Regions from separate parts of the Homo sapiens genome. Here regions 1, 2 and 4 are each linked to region 3. The links are contacts of gene promoters, found by promoter capture Hi-C in human tissues and cell types (Jung and others, 2019). All regions are on one chromosome and are shown on one strand. Each heading gives the region's core, a stretch centred on a gene start or on the middle of the fragment in contact. The rest is flanking DNA. Distances are from core to core; before and after follow the strand shown. Region 1 has its middle 23 kb from the start of OR2S2. Region 2 overlaps LOC124902148 (a long non-coding RNA gene). Region 3 holds the start of NPR2 (natriuretic peptide receptor 2). Region 4 holds the start of CCDC107 (coiled-coil domain containing 107).

What was found. The method cuts DNA at HindIII sites, captures the fragments that hold promoters and counts their contacts. A contact is called where the count stands out against the background at its distance.
Region 1: a fragment that was not itself captured here is called in contact with the fragment with the promoter of NPR2 in region 3 in 5 of the 25 tissues and cell types used here (IMR-90 fibroblasts, aorta, mesenchymal stem cells and 2 more).
Region 2: a fragment that was not itself captured here is called in contact with the fragment with the promoter of NPR2 in region 3 in 1 of the 25 tissues and cell types used here (liver).
Region 4: a contact is called between the fragment with the promoter of CCDC107 here and the fragment with the promoter of NPR2 in region 3, in 1 of the 25 tissues and cell types used here (thymus).

The regions. Positions count from the first base shown.
Region 1 is chr9:35,933,457-35,936,456 of GRCh38, reverse strand. No RefSeq gene overlaps it. Among named protein-coding and RNA genes, the nearest start is that of OR2S2, 23 kb to the left of the region's middle. The HindIII fragment of the contact is 7,970 bases long and covers 1-3,000 here.
Region 2 is chr9:35,621,227-35,624,326 of GRCh38, reverse strand. It overlaps LOC124902148 (a long non-coding RNA gene), which reads right to left. Exons shown (of 2, transcript XR_007061470.1): 2 at 2,346-2,669. It also overlaps a transcript of CD72 not described here. Among named protein-coding and RNA genes, the nearest start is that of CD72, 4.4 kb to the right of the region's middle. The HindIII fragment of the contact is 6,866 bases long and covers 1-3,100 here.
Region 3 is chr9:35,789,544-35,792,840 of GRCh38, reverse strand. It overlaps NPR2 (natriuretic peptide receptor 2), which reads right to left and starts at 1,250. Exons shown (of 22, transcript NM_003995.4): 1 at 1-1,250. The coding sequence starts at 432. It also overlaps a transcript of RGP1 not described here. The HindIII fragment of the contact is 19,498 bases long and covers 1-3,297 here.
Region 4 is chr9:35,656,832-35,659,886 of GRCh38, reverse strand. It overlaps CCDC107 (coiled-coil domain containing 107), which reads right to left and starts at 1,595. Exons shown (of 5, transcript NM_174923.3): 1 at 1,402-1,595; 2 at 1,160-1,311. The coding sequence starts at 1,507. ARHGEF39 (Rho guanine nucleotide exchange factor 39) reads left to right here. Exons shown (of 9, transcript NM_032818.3): 9 at 1-544. It also overlaps RMRP. RefSeq lists a silencer at 1,473-1,732 and enhancers at 1,815-2,322, 2,323-2,831. The HindIII fragment of the contact is 10,595 bases long and covers 1-3,055 here.

The sequences.
Region 1 (3,000 bases), core at 343-2,842, 140 kb before region 3:
GGCCCATTTGGTCTCCTGGAAAGCTGGCCACAAATAGCTTTCAATAACACCTCTGGGCATACACCAAAGAAGTAAATCTGACTCTAAGTAAAATCTTGTAGCTTGCCAATATTTTCACCAGTTAGGAATTATAGGAATTCAGCCATAGAATTTGAACATAAATTGAAGTCTCCTTTTAGCCATTTTTTGTTTTTAGTAGAGACCAAGATCCCATTCATTGCCAAACGTTTTCATAGGCATGAATGCTTGTGTTTGATCCAGGAATAATAAATGATTGACTGTTACCCAGCAGCAGGGTGGGGTGGGATTCCTGGCACTTTTTTTTTTTTTAAGCAAAGGAAAAACAACTGAGCAGACATTTGCTCTTTCAACAGCGTTTTGTGAAAATGTAAATTAAAGAGACTAGTCTTTTTAAAATTATTTCCATAATCACAAATACGACTGTGGAAAGTCAAGACAATGCTGTTTTAAGTCAATATAAGTTATCTGACCTAGACGTCGCCATTAGGACTGTCAACTAACAAGGCATCTGTAGTTTGCTAACTTTTTTATCTTAATGAATTCTGAATTCAAATGTTTTCTTTTTAAATATAAATATTTGCTTTCGCTAAAGGTAAGTTGAAATTCTTGAGTGTTGACTTGAGTACGTACAGAAAAGATCAGTTTCACTGCCAGTAGCTGGGAAATCCATGGTTGGAATTCAAAAACAGCCAATGTATTATACATCATTACATTTCATTGTACACATTCCTATAATATAGAATAAAATTTAAAATTATTTTTGAATAAAACCTTGATTATAGGAATCACAAGAGAAAAGTTTGCCTCATTTAAGAAGTGCTCTAAACTAATAGCTCTCAAACATTTTGCCCTGCAGGTTAGCAAAAATGAAAAGACTAATCAGACCTAATATTGCTAAGTGTAGAAGAAAATAAGTAGAGTCATGCGTTGTTTAGACTGAGATGCATTCTGAGAAATGCGTCATTAGACGATTTCATCATTGTGGGAACATCACAGACTGGACTTGCACGAACCTAGCCTAATATATACCTAAGCTATATGGCATGGCCTATGGCTGCTAAGCTAGAAACCTGTCCAGTGTGTTACTGTACTGGACACTGTAGGCAATTGTAACACAATGGTAAGTATTTGTGTATCTAAACATAGAAAAGGTACAGTAAAAATATGGAATCATAAACTATGGACCATTGTCATATATGCAGACCACACATCATTGACCAAAACATACATACTGACCAAAATATCATTGTGCAGTGCATGACTATACACTTATACTTGGTGCTAATGTAAACTGGGCCAATTTTTAAAATATAATGCTATAATGTTAGATAGATATATAAGAAAAGTAGACTGAATAAGGAAAACTCAATCATATCCCAAGAAAGAAAACTAAGAGCCTAAAGGCCAAATAGTCCTCGGTTTTACAAGTTGAATCACCATGCATTTAATATTTTTTTAAATTTTTTATTATTTATTTATGTATTTATTTGTTTGTTTGTTTGTTTGTTTTCAGATAGAGTCTCACTCTGTCTCTCAAGCTGGAGTGCAATGGCGCGATCTCAGCTCACTGCAACCTCTGCCACGCAGGTTCAAGTGATTCTCCTGCCTCAGCCTCCCAGGTGGCTGGGATTACAGGCACTCGCCATCACGCCTGGCTAATTTTTTGTATTTTTGTAGAGATGAGGTTTCACCATGTTGGTCAGGCTGGTCTTGAACTCCTGACTTCAGGTGATCTGCCTGCCTCGGCCTCCCAAAGTGCTGGGATTACAGGCATAAGTCACCGTGCCTGGCTACCATGCATTTAATATGAACTTGCCAGATTCAGCAAATAAGAATACAGGTTGCTCAAATTTAATTTCAATTTCAGATAAACAATACTTTTTTTTTTGAGGCGGAATCTCGCTCTGTCACCCAGGCTGGAGTGCGGTGGCACGATCTTGGCTCACTGCAACCTCTGCTTCCCAGGTTCAAGTGATTCTCCTGCCTCAGCCTCCCGAGTACCTGGGACTACAGGCGCCCACCACCATGCCCAGCTAATTTTTGTAATTTTAGTAGAGACGGGGTTTCACCATATTGGCCAGGCTGATCTCAAATTCCTGACCTTGTAATCCACCCACCTCGGCCTCCCAAAGTGCTAGGATTACAAGAGTGAGCCACCGCTCCCGGCCAAACAATACTTTTTTTAGTATAAGCATGTCTATATACTTTGTGTCATAGCTATAGTTTAAAAAGTATTCATTGTTTATCTGAAATTCAGATTTTACTAAGCATCCTGTGTTTTATCTGGCAACTCTAATTTAACATAAAACAATAATGATTACAAGATAGGAAAGTTTTATCTTAGATTGTTGGTAAAATTCCTGCCCCAAATCTCTTCTTTCACATCCTTTACCCAGGGTATGATTTTCCAACTGTTGTCCTAGAAATTCCCTGGCTAATCTTGTTATTTTATCCTTATCCTTAGATCCATCTTACAATGTCCTCCAGTATCTCTTACTCATTTTTTTTCTTTCTTTTTCAGTCATAATTCTTTTCATTTTCAAGTTGCTGTTAATAGTTCCACGTACATTCAAGAGACAATCCTCTTACCCATCTCAAAACTAGGCATTACTCAATTTTCCTGGAGGAGGGTAAGAAGAAGCCAAATCCAGAACAGAGAGTACAAATAATTAACAGGCTTAATCTTTGGAGTGTCTCAACTGCAAAGGAGTAATTGTTTTCCTACCTACTCTTGTTGCTTTTACAGGTGAGCAGACAGGCTGGAACAGACAGGCAAGGAAAAGACTGTTGAAAAGATTGTTCCAAGAACATGAAATTTAACTGCAGTCCGATTTGTACAAATTCCATTTATCTTGGTTTCGAACTACCCCTCTCTACCACTCGGATCTTTGGAAGCTTAAATGGCTAGTTACAATTAAAAAAAAAATACAATCAAATGAAAAAACTCTACAGGAATTTAGACACTGACTTGAGAGTTAA
Region 2 (3,100 bases), core at 499-2,998, 170 kb after region 3:
ATGGACTGGCCAGCCTTAGGCAGAGGCCCACTTGCTCATTTTATATTTTTATTAAATTAAATTTATTATTATTATTATTATTATTATTATTATTATTATTATTATTATTATTTTTGAGACAGAGTCTCCCTTTGTCGCCCAGGCTGGAGTGCAGTGGTGTGATCTTGGCTCACTGCAACCTCCGCCTCCCAGGTTCAAGTGATTCTCCTGCCTCAGCCTCCCGAGTAGCTGGGATTACAGGCATGTGCCACCACGCCCAGCTAATTTTTGTATTTTTAGTAGAGATGGGGTTTCATCGTGTTGGTCAGGCTGGTCGTGATCCACCGACTTCAGCCTCCCAAAGTGCTGGGATTACAGGCGTGAGCCACTGGGCCTGGCCTTTATAAATTTGTCTTTTTAACCCATTTTTTTCTGAGACGGAGTCTTGCTCTGTCACCCAGGCTGGAGTGCAGTGGTGGAATCTCGGCTCACTGCAAGCTCCGCCTCCTGGGTTCAAGCTATTCTCTTGCCTCAGCCTCCTGAGTAGCTGGGATTACGCATGTACCACTATGCCCAGCTAATTTTGTATTTTTAGTAGAGACGGGGTTTCGCCATGTTGGCCAGGCTGGTCTTGAACTCCTGACCTCAGGTGATCCGCCTGCCTCGGCCTCCCAAAGAGCTGGGATTATAGGTGTGAGCCACTGCGCCAGGCCTCGCTTGCTAATTTTAATCAGCTGAGGTCAAAGGGGTTGGAGGTCACAAGACACAATTTCTGGGGACTAGGGCTGCCTCATCAGCAGGGGTTTGCCTGCTTAAAAAGGGCTATAGGTAGTATTTAAGTATGGGATAAAAAACACAAAGTAAAAAACAAAACAAAAAAAAAGGGCTATAGGTGTGGCTGGCACAATGTTAGATGTATTTGGTAAGGGGGCTACAGTTCTATGTGGCAGCCTTTTGTCACAAGCTTCTTTCCAGTCACTGGGTCAGTTTATAAGGCGCTTACAGCCTGCTGAGTCCAGTTTCCCAATTTGTAAAATAAGCAGGCTGGGCTCTCTAAGATCCCTTCAAGTGTAAAATAATAACTGCCTTTCTCCTCAAACTTTGTTACATAAACAATTGTTAACCCAGGACTCCCTCCATCCTATGCTTATGCAATTTATTTTTTGAATTCCAAATTTCATTTTTCAATAAATGCTTGCTGTATTATCTTTTTTTTATTTTAATTTTGATTCATTTATTTTTTGAGGGAGGGTTTCACTGCTGCCCAGGCCAGAGTGCAGTGGCACAAACATGGCTGACAGCAGCCTCGCCCTCCTGGGCTCAAACAATCCTCCCCACTCAGCCTCCCAAGAAGCTGAGACCATAAGCATGTGCCATCACACCTGCCTAATTTTTAAATTTTTTGTAGAGATGGAGTCTCGCTGTGTTGGCCAGTCTGGTCTCGAATTCCTAGGCCCAAGTGATCCTCCCACCTCAGCTTCCCAAAGTCTTGGGATTATAGGCATGAGCCATTGTGCCTGACTTTGCTGTTATTATTATTATTATTATTATTATTTTTTTTGAGACAGAGTCTCGCTCTGTCACCCAGGCTGGAGTGCAGTGGCACCACCTTGGCTCACTGCAACCTCTGCCTCCCGGGTTTAAGCGATTCTTTTGCTTCAGCCTCCTGGGTAGCTGGGACTACAGGTGTGCGCCGCCATGCCCGGCTAATTTTTGTATTATTAGTAGAGACGGGGTTTCACCATATTGGCCAGGCTGGTCTCGAAATTCTGACCTTGTGATCTGTGCACCTTGGCTTCCCAAGGGATAACAGGCGTGAGCCATCGTGCCTGGCCTGCTGTTATTATTTTTATGACATTTCATTCTGTGGTTTGGAGCCATCATTTTGCCTTGTTGCAAGGCTTGAATCTTGAGTTGGCCTTTTGATGTATTTGCTTTTCAGCTCTGTGCCATTAAGCACAGAGAACGTGCTTTCTGTGTCACCATTTGAGGCAGGACCAAGGAGAGGCCTGGGGCAAGTCACCGAAGACCTATCTGTACTCTTTGGCTTCAGTGATCAAAGAAATCCAAGTCTCCCTCATGGTGCAATCAGGTGGCCCATTTTTCTCCCTCCTGACTCTGAAGCCTTTGTGACAGATTTTAAAGAGGCGTTTGTAAAGTCCACACCTAGTGTGTCTCCAGCAATCATACTCTTGATTGAGGTCAGACTATCTTGTATTTTACAGATGGAAAACTGTCACTTGCCCAAAGTCACATACTGTGGCAAGGCTGGTCTCTTTAACCAGAGTCTCCCTATTCTTTCTATTACATCATGCTTCCTCCACAGTTCACGAAACTCTTGCTGCTCTAATAAATTACACACTTGGTGGCTTAAACAATACAAATTTATTGTCTTACAGTTGTGGAGATCAGGTCGACACAGGTCTCACTGGGCTAAAGTCAAGGTGTCTGCAGGGCTGGTTCCTTTCTGGATGCTGAAGGGGAAAATCTGCTTCCTTGCCTTTTCCAGCTCTCAGAGGCTTCTTGCATTCCTTGGCTCAAGGTCCTCTTCCTGCACCTTCAAAATCAGGACCTATGGGTTGAGTGTTTCTCCTGTGGCGTCTCTCTGGCCCTCCTTCCCTCACCGAATCTCTTTCTTCCCATGATGGGAAAGGTTCTCCCTTTCAAGGACTCATGTGATCAGAGTGTGCCTACCAAGATAAAACAGGATAATCTCTCTATCTAAAGGACCTTGATTAACATAGCCACATCTACATTTTGTCAGGTAAAGTGACATAGTCACAGGTTCTGGGGATTCGGGTGTGAACATTTTTGGGAGGCCATTATTCTGGCTACCACACCCTGTCAGTAAACTAGGGCTTCCCGGAGGCCAGTGGGTTAAAGTAATGAAGACAGATATAGCCTGACTTTCAGAGTCTTAGGAGATGCTCCCGATGTCCTGACATAGACTGTATCAATGACACAAAGTTGATCAGGTGAGCCCCCTTCCACATGGCAAATTCTATCTGATGCCCTCATGGTTGGGCCCCCTCCTCTTGTCAACCGTAAACACCCATTCCCTGTAATGAGTAGTGGGGAGGCCAGGAGAGGGCAAAACATGGGTGTTAGTGTCTGCCCTCCA
Region 3 (3,297 bases), core at 1-2,500:
GGGGCCAGTGCGAACCAGGGTACGATAATGGTCATTCTTAGCCGAAAAACCAGAGGCCACAGCACCCGCAGTCAGCAGGGGAAGGCGCCAGTGGGAGGCAAAGCGGGCCACAGAGGCAGCAGGGTACACGCAACCGGGACCTAACAGCAGGTCGGGGTCATGGTACAGCTTGAGGTCCACAGCGCTCAGCGGTGCCAGGTACTCAGAGCAGGCGCCTTCCAGTTCGGAGCTGACAAACCGCAGGTCCACGGGCAGTGCCCGGCCCAGAGCCTCCACAGCTAGTGCCACAGCGGGTCCCACCCGTGGCCAGGCCCAGGCATAGCTCAGGTTGTGTTCTGGCAGCACCACCGCCAGCGTCAGGTTCCGCGCCCCGGGAGGACGCACCCCACCTGCCAGGGCTGCCACCAACAGCAGAAGTGATGGCAGCGCCATGGGGATAAAGCAGCAGCCCCACCGCCCCCAGAACTTGGGGCTGCTCTGGCCTACAGGGGAGACGCGAGCACCCCCCAGCCTGGAGCCTGGGGAAGAGGGCCAGGAAGAGGAGGAGTAGGCTAGGTAGGCTGGGATGCAGAAGGTGCTGGGGGCCGGGGAGAGGAGGGGGAGATGGGAGGAAGGCGGGGGGCGGGCAAGGAGTGGGCTACCAGCCTAGGGCAAGGACTGAGGACTGAGAACGGGGTGGCAGGGGGAGGGAGGGACCGAGGGGGCCTGCGGCCAGGATGGGGACAGTGCGAGGTGAAGAAGCCTGATAAATCTAAAGCTGAGAAGGAAAAGGGGATCTGGGACTGGGATGGGGTGGGGGTGGGGGGCGGGTGGTACAAAGAAACGGCCTGGGGGAACCTCACAGCTGAAAGGGCCGGGAGGGCAGGAGGGCGCTGCGCCACATAGGACCAAGGGGGTAAGGTGGGAGGGTGCCCGCGCCGCGGAAGGACTGGGATCATGGGCAGGCGGGGAGCGAAGCGAGGCCTGGGCCGGAGGGCAGGGGAAGGCAGGGGTAAATCTCCCTGTGAAGGATTCTCCCGGAGCTCCTGCTTGGACTAACGGGCCCGGGCGCTGGTCCCATCCGGAGCTACGGCGGCCCCGCCCGTGTCCCCGCTCCTCTCTGCTCCGCTTCTCCTGGGCCCTGGCGGCCGGCGCTGCCCGGCGCTTCCTCCCGCCCCCCGCCTGGGCCCCGCGCGCGCCGCTCGTCCGGGTCAGGTCGCCTCGGCCCGGCCCGTCTCCGCTCGCTGCGCCGGCGGCCGAGTGCGACTCCCCCGGGCAGGCCGCCCGCCCCCGCCCCTCCCCCGCTGCCTCTCCTCCTCCCTCCCGGCCCCACCCTCCGGCGCCGGCTGCCTTCCCCCACCCCCCACCCGGGCGCTCGGGACCGCCAGGTCCCAAACCCACCCCGGTGAGCACTTGGGGGCTCCGCACCAAGGCCTCGCCGGCCAGCAGGGTTCCCGGGCGCTCCCTCACTCTCAGGGCCTACCCTGGTCTCCCCCACGCCCCTGGTCCCCCTGCCGCCCCTCCTTCCATTTCCATCTCACACACGCCAGCGACCCCAGGGTTTGTCCTCTCCCCCTCGCTCAGCCCGTTCTTCTTGGGTCTCCCCTCTGAACTCCCTGAGTCCCTCAGTGGTTCCAGTCTCCAGGAAGCAGTCGAGGATCCCCAGACGTGTGGTATCCTCACCAGCCCCCTCACCTAGCAAACCATAGCGCCCTCCCGACGGCAGTGCGGCTTACTCCACCGCGGACCATGCCCGCTCCCTGGACGGGCCCCTCCAGCAGCCAGGGGCCCCTGCTGTACACTTCCCACCAGTCCTTAGAAAGTCCACGAGGCTCCTTCTTGCTTGGGACTCAACTCTCGGCCCCCCGCTGTCTCCATGCCCCCTGCCCTCCTCGTGTCCTCAGAGGCCCACCGCAGCCCGCCCGGCTTCCTCCGCACCATCTGCTCAGTCAGGGCCTCGATTTTCTTTTGTCTCCTGCACAGCGCAGGCTGGCGCCTGGGGAAAGCCTGTAACGGACCGGCGGGACACTCCCCGCAGTGGAAGCCCATCCACGCTCTCCTGGGGTTCCACCTTGCTCCCAGCTTCCCTTAGGAAGCTCTCCCTAGGGCCCTCATATCTGGAGTGCCAATCTGACCCCAAGAACAGCTTGTGAGGGATGATCTCATGGTGGCTGAGAGGGACTGCTATGGGACCTTGGGGATTTTTCTCCAACTGTCATAAAGGACATGCACATAAGCCCATTCTCTGCCCGCGCTAAGAGCCACGGTTTCTCTCCCCCCTTCAAGCTATTTCTCCAGAAATCACAAGCTAAGAGCGCTCCTGGAGCCCTGGAGTGGGGTGGGAGTGTATAGGGCGAGGACGGGCATGGTTTCCCTGAGATGAAGGCGACACCTAGTGGTTTGGTGGGGGAAATTAAGGACAATGCCACTTTATCCTTAGGCACGATATTTATTGAACACCGGCTGCCTAGCACAAGCTGTACCTGTGAATACAAAGAAAGCCGAATGATACAGCCCTTACCTTTGAGGAACATGCATTTGCAATCCCTGGGGCACAGAGGCCAAGAGCAGGCCGTCCCTAACAATGTTCTTGCCTCAAGCCCAGTAGAGATGGAAGCCTCAGGACAGCTCCTTCTTTAACGCAGAGGGGTTGGTAACTCTAGTTCCAGGCTCCCAATACTGCAGTGAAAAGGAATTTTGTCCTATCTGGCCAAGGCAAAAAAAAAAAAAAGGAACAGTCAAAAGAATGACGAGACAACATGAGAAATACTTTAGACCAAGTCAACCAAATAGAATAGTTGATTTTTAAGCAACTACACATTGTTTTATGAGACAAGCAAATCCAAAATGACAAAATTCCTGAAAGAATTACAGAATGGCAGGGCTAAGAGGATCATATAAATATATTGTTTAGCCCTCTCATTTAAAGATAATTGAAAACCAAATCCCAGAGAGGAAGGTCGCAGTGTCCTTACTTGCTCCTCTCCCCCAATCCCACATGGCTTTTTAGTTGCAAAAGAGAGATTAAAATGCAGGTTTCATGGTCTCCAAGGAGAGGCTCTTTATAGATATTTTGCTGACTCATGGAACTTACTGTAGAAAGCTGTGCTTACAATATAATAGCCACCAAACCCAGGCAAGTCTCTCTGGAACACCTGCAGCCCTCAGTGAGGATCAGCCACCACTGTCACCCAGACTCCTACGCAAGTACAAGTGCATCATATGTCATTATTCTGAACATTAAGGACTATTCTTCATTATGTTAGGGATTAAACATTCAAGCATCTTGCCTTTCCCTTTTCCTCCCAGTTGGCCAGT
Region 4 (3,055 bases), core at 346-2,845, 130 kb after region 3:
GGTGACAGAGCGAGACTCCATCTCGAAAAAAACAAAAACTTTGGTTGTTAGACAGTTCATGCACAAAGCCAAAATTTGTCCTTTATGTATCTTCTTTCCATAGTGCTTACTGGAGCCTTCCAAAATAATGTCTCCTCAAGGTGACAGCCCCTCAGGAATTTGAAGGCAATGGTCACACCCTCACCCACTTTCCTGAGTTTTTTCTGGTTTATTAACGTCAGTCTTTACAGTCAGTGCTCATTGACGGTGGTTTTCTCTGGTTGTTTCCTGAACACGTAGTGCTCTTAAAGCAATGCCCTGAGGAGAATACAATTCTCCAGGGGCATTCTGATTGGCAGGTGAAGCACAGTGCCATGTTCCCAGCACTGATTTGGGAAGTGGCTTGTCACATCCCACAGTGAACTCAGTCAACTGGAATGCCTAACTCTCTTTCATAAGACCTCCTGCTACATTATGTTTCTCCCAGACTGTACTCAGGTCCAAGAACAGAATTTACTAGTCTATCCTTCTCAAAGTTCATCATTAAATTCAGTCATTCATCCTAGCCTGTCACATCTACCTGGGGTCATTATTAGCTATCTCTTCTAGTTTCATATATCTAAACTGGTTCCATCGGTTCTATTTTATAATGCAAGTACGTAATAGGGTCACGGCTAAAGACACAGCCCTGGAAGGTACTGTTTTTCAAAATGTACTGTCAACTTACATTTCAGGGCCTCCTCCCAAGGAGAACATGAGACCACTTCATATCTGGAACTCTAGAAACACTGGCTGCAGCAATCAACCTCCTGTGCCAAGGCTGGCCCCACTCTTGTAGCATGGACACTGCTAGCTGGGTTCAAATCCCAGCTCCAGCAGTTGCCAGCGCTGGGTGACCTCGAGCAAGTGACTACTCCTCACTGGATTGTAGGAGAACTAAATGTGATAGTCATTATTTACAGTTCACCACACGCTCTTCACATCCGTTACCTCCCTGGATCCTCAAAATAACCTCATAATATTGGAAGGCCAACGGACTACTGTCTTTATTTTACAGACAGGGAAGCTGTGTCTTGTTCTTGGTACCCTGGCACCCCCATGGGAGATTCGGGCTCAGGGGATCCCCACGCCCGGCGGTCCCGCACCTGCAGGGGCACCCCTACCCCCGGCCGCCCCGTACCTGCAAACACTTGTACAGCACAAAAGCCGCGACGGCCGCGGTGTACAGCGCCCCCAGAGGCAGCGACCCGGCCCGGGTCCGCTCGCGTTGATCCTTGAGCGGTGGTCGCCGCCGGGGTTCCGTGGCTCCAGAGCCGGGGTGGGCTGCGTTCCCTGCGGAGGGAGGATACAGGCGAGTCAGCCGAGCTGGGGCCTGGGACCCGTGCGCAGTCCCAGCCCTCCTCCAGCAGCCCTAGCTGGTACCTGGGTGTGCCCGGAGGTCGGGATTGGCGCGGTCTCCTAGGACCCCGGACAGCGCAGACACAAGCAGCAGCCCCACCACACCCAAGAGCGAAACTGCGCCCGCCATTGCCGGCCCACGGGTGGAGGGATCGGGCGGGCGGTGCCGAAGCGGTCCGGCATTGGCCGGCCGCCCCAACGCGCACGCGCACGCGAGCAGGCCGGCCGGCTCCGGGGAGGCCACGCCCACTCCCCGTAGGGCGGGGCCAGACCATATTTGCATAAGATAGTGTCATTCTAGCTTTCCTGTATTTGTTCATTTCGTGTCTATTAGCTATTCTGCTAGCCACAATGCCTCTGAAAGCCTATAGTCTTAGAAAGTTATGCCCGAAAACGGTTTTTTTAATCTCACGCCACCAACTTTCTCACCCTAATCATAAAACACAATTTCTTTAGGGCTATAAAATACTACTCTGTGAAGCTGAGGACGTGGTTCGTGCTGAAGGCCTGTATCCTAGGCTACACACTGAGGACTCTGTTCCTCCCCTTTCCGCCTAGGGGAAAGTCCCCGGACCTCGGGCAGAGAGTGCCACGTGCATACGCACGTAGACATTCCCCGCTTCCCACTCCAAAGTCCGCCAAGAAGCGTATCCCGCTGAGCGGCGTGGCGCGGGGGCGTCATCCGTCAGCTCCCTCTAGTTACGCAGGCAGTGCGTGTCCGCGCACCAACCACACGGGGCTCATTCTCAGCGCGGCTGTTTTTTGTTCCCGAGACCACGGCTCACTGCAGCCTCGACCTCCCCGGGCTCACGCGATGCCTCACCTCAGGCTCCCAAGTAGTTGGGACCGCAGGCGCACGCCATCATGCCTGGCTAATTTTTGTATTTTTTGTAGAGACGGATTTTCACCTGTTGCCCAGGCTGGTCTCGAACGCCTGGTGTCAAGCGATCAGTCCACCTCGCCCTCCCAAAGTGCTGGGATTACAGGCGTGACACCGCGCCCGGTCAACGCGGCTGCTTTTCATGCGCGGGCAGCTTTACGCTGTTCTTGGCCTTGCTATGAAGTCCTTGTGCTCATTACTCCAAATATGGAGCATTCCTGAAACAGCCTCCTCTTCTACCTCCCTCTCCCTTTGGCAAACGCCATAGTAGCCACCATTCACTGTGTAGCTGGTACACAACATATGGACTCTGCTTGGGCTAGAATCCTGCCTCCTGTACTCAAGAGCGGTGACCTTGTGAAACTTAGTTCTCTCTCCGTGCCTTCCTTTCCACTCTGAGGAATGAAGATAAGCACTTACTTCAAGAGCTATGATGATTAAATGGGATCACTCAAGTTAGAACCGTGCCTACTTATTAGTGATTTTTTTTTTTTTGGAACGGCGGGTCGCTCTCTTGCCCAGGCTGGTCTTAAACTCCTGGGATCCTCCCGCTTCAGCCTCCCGGGTAGTTGACATTACAGGCACGTGCCACCCCGACGGACTCTAGTGATTTTTTAACTTGAGCAGCTACTACTGTAAGCCAGACAGTTGAAATTACACTGACTCTCCCTGACATGCCGCTGCATTCCCTTTCTGCATACTGGGTTCTACACGACCTTCAGTTCTCAGCTCAAGTGTGTTCCCATCATTCGGAACCCTTAATTCAACTTCTAATTTATTCTTTAGTGCCGCTATTTC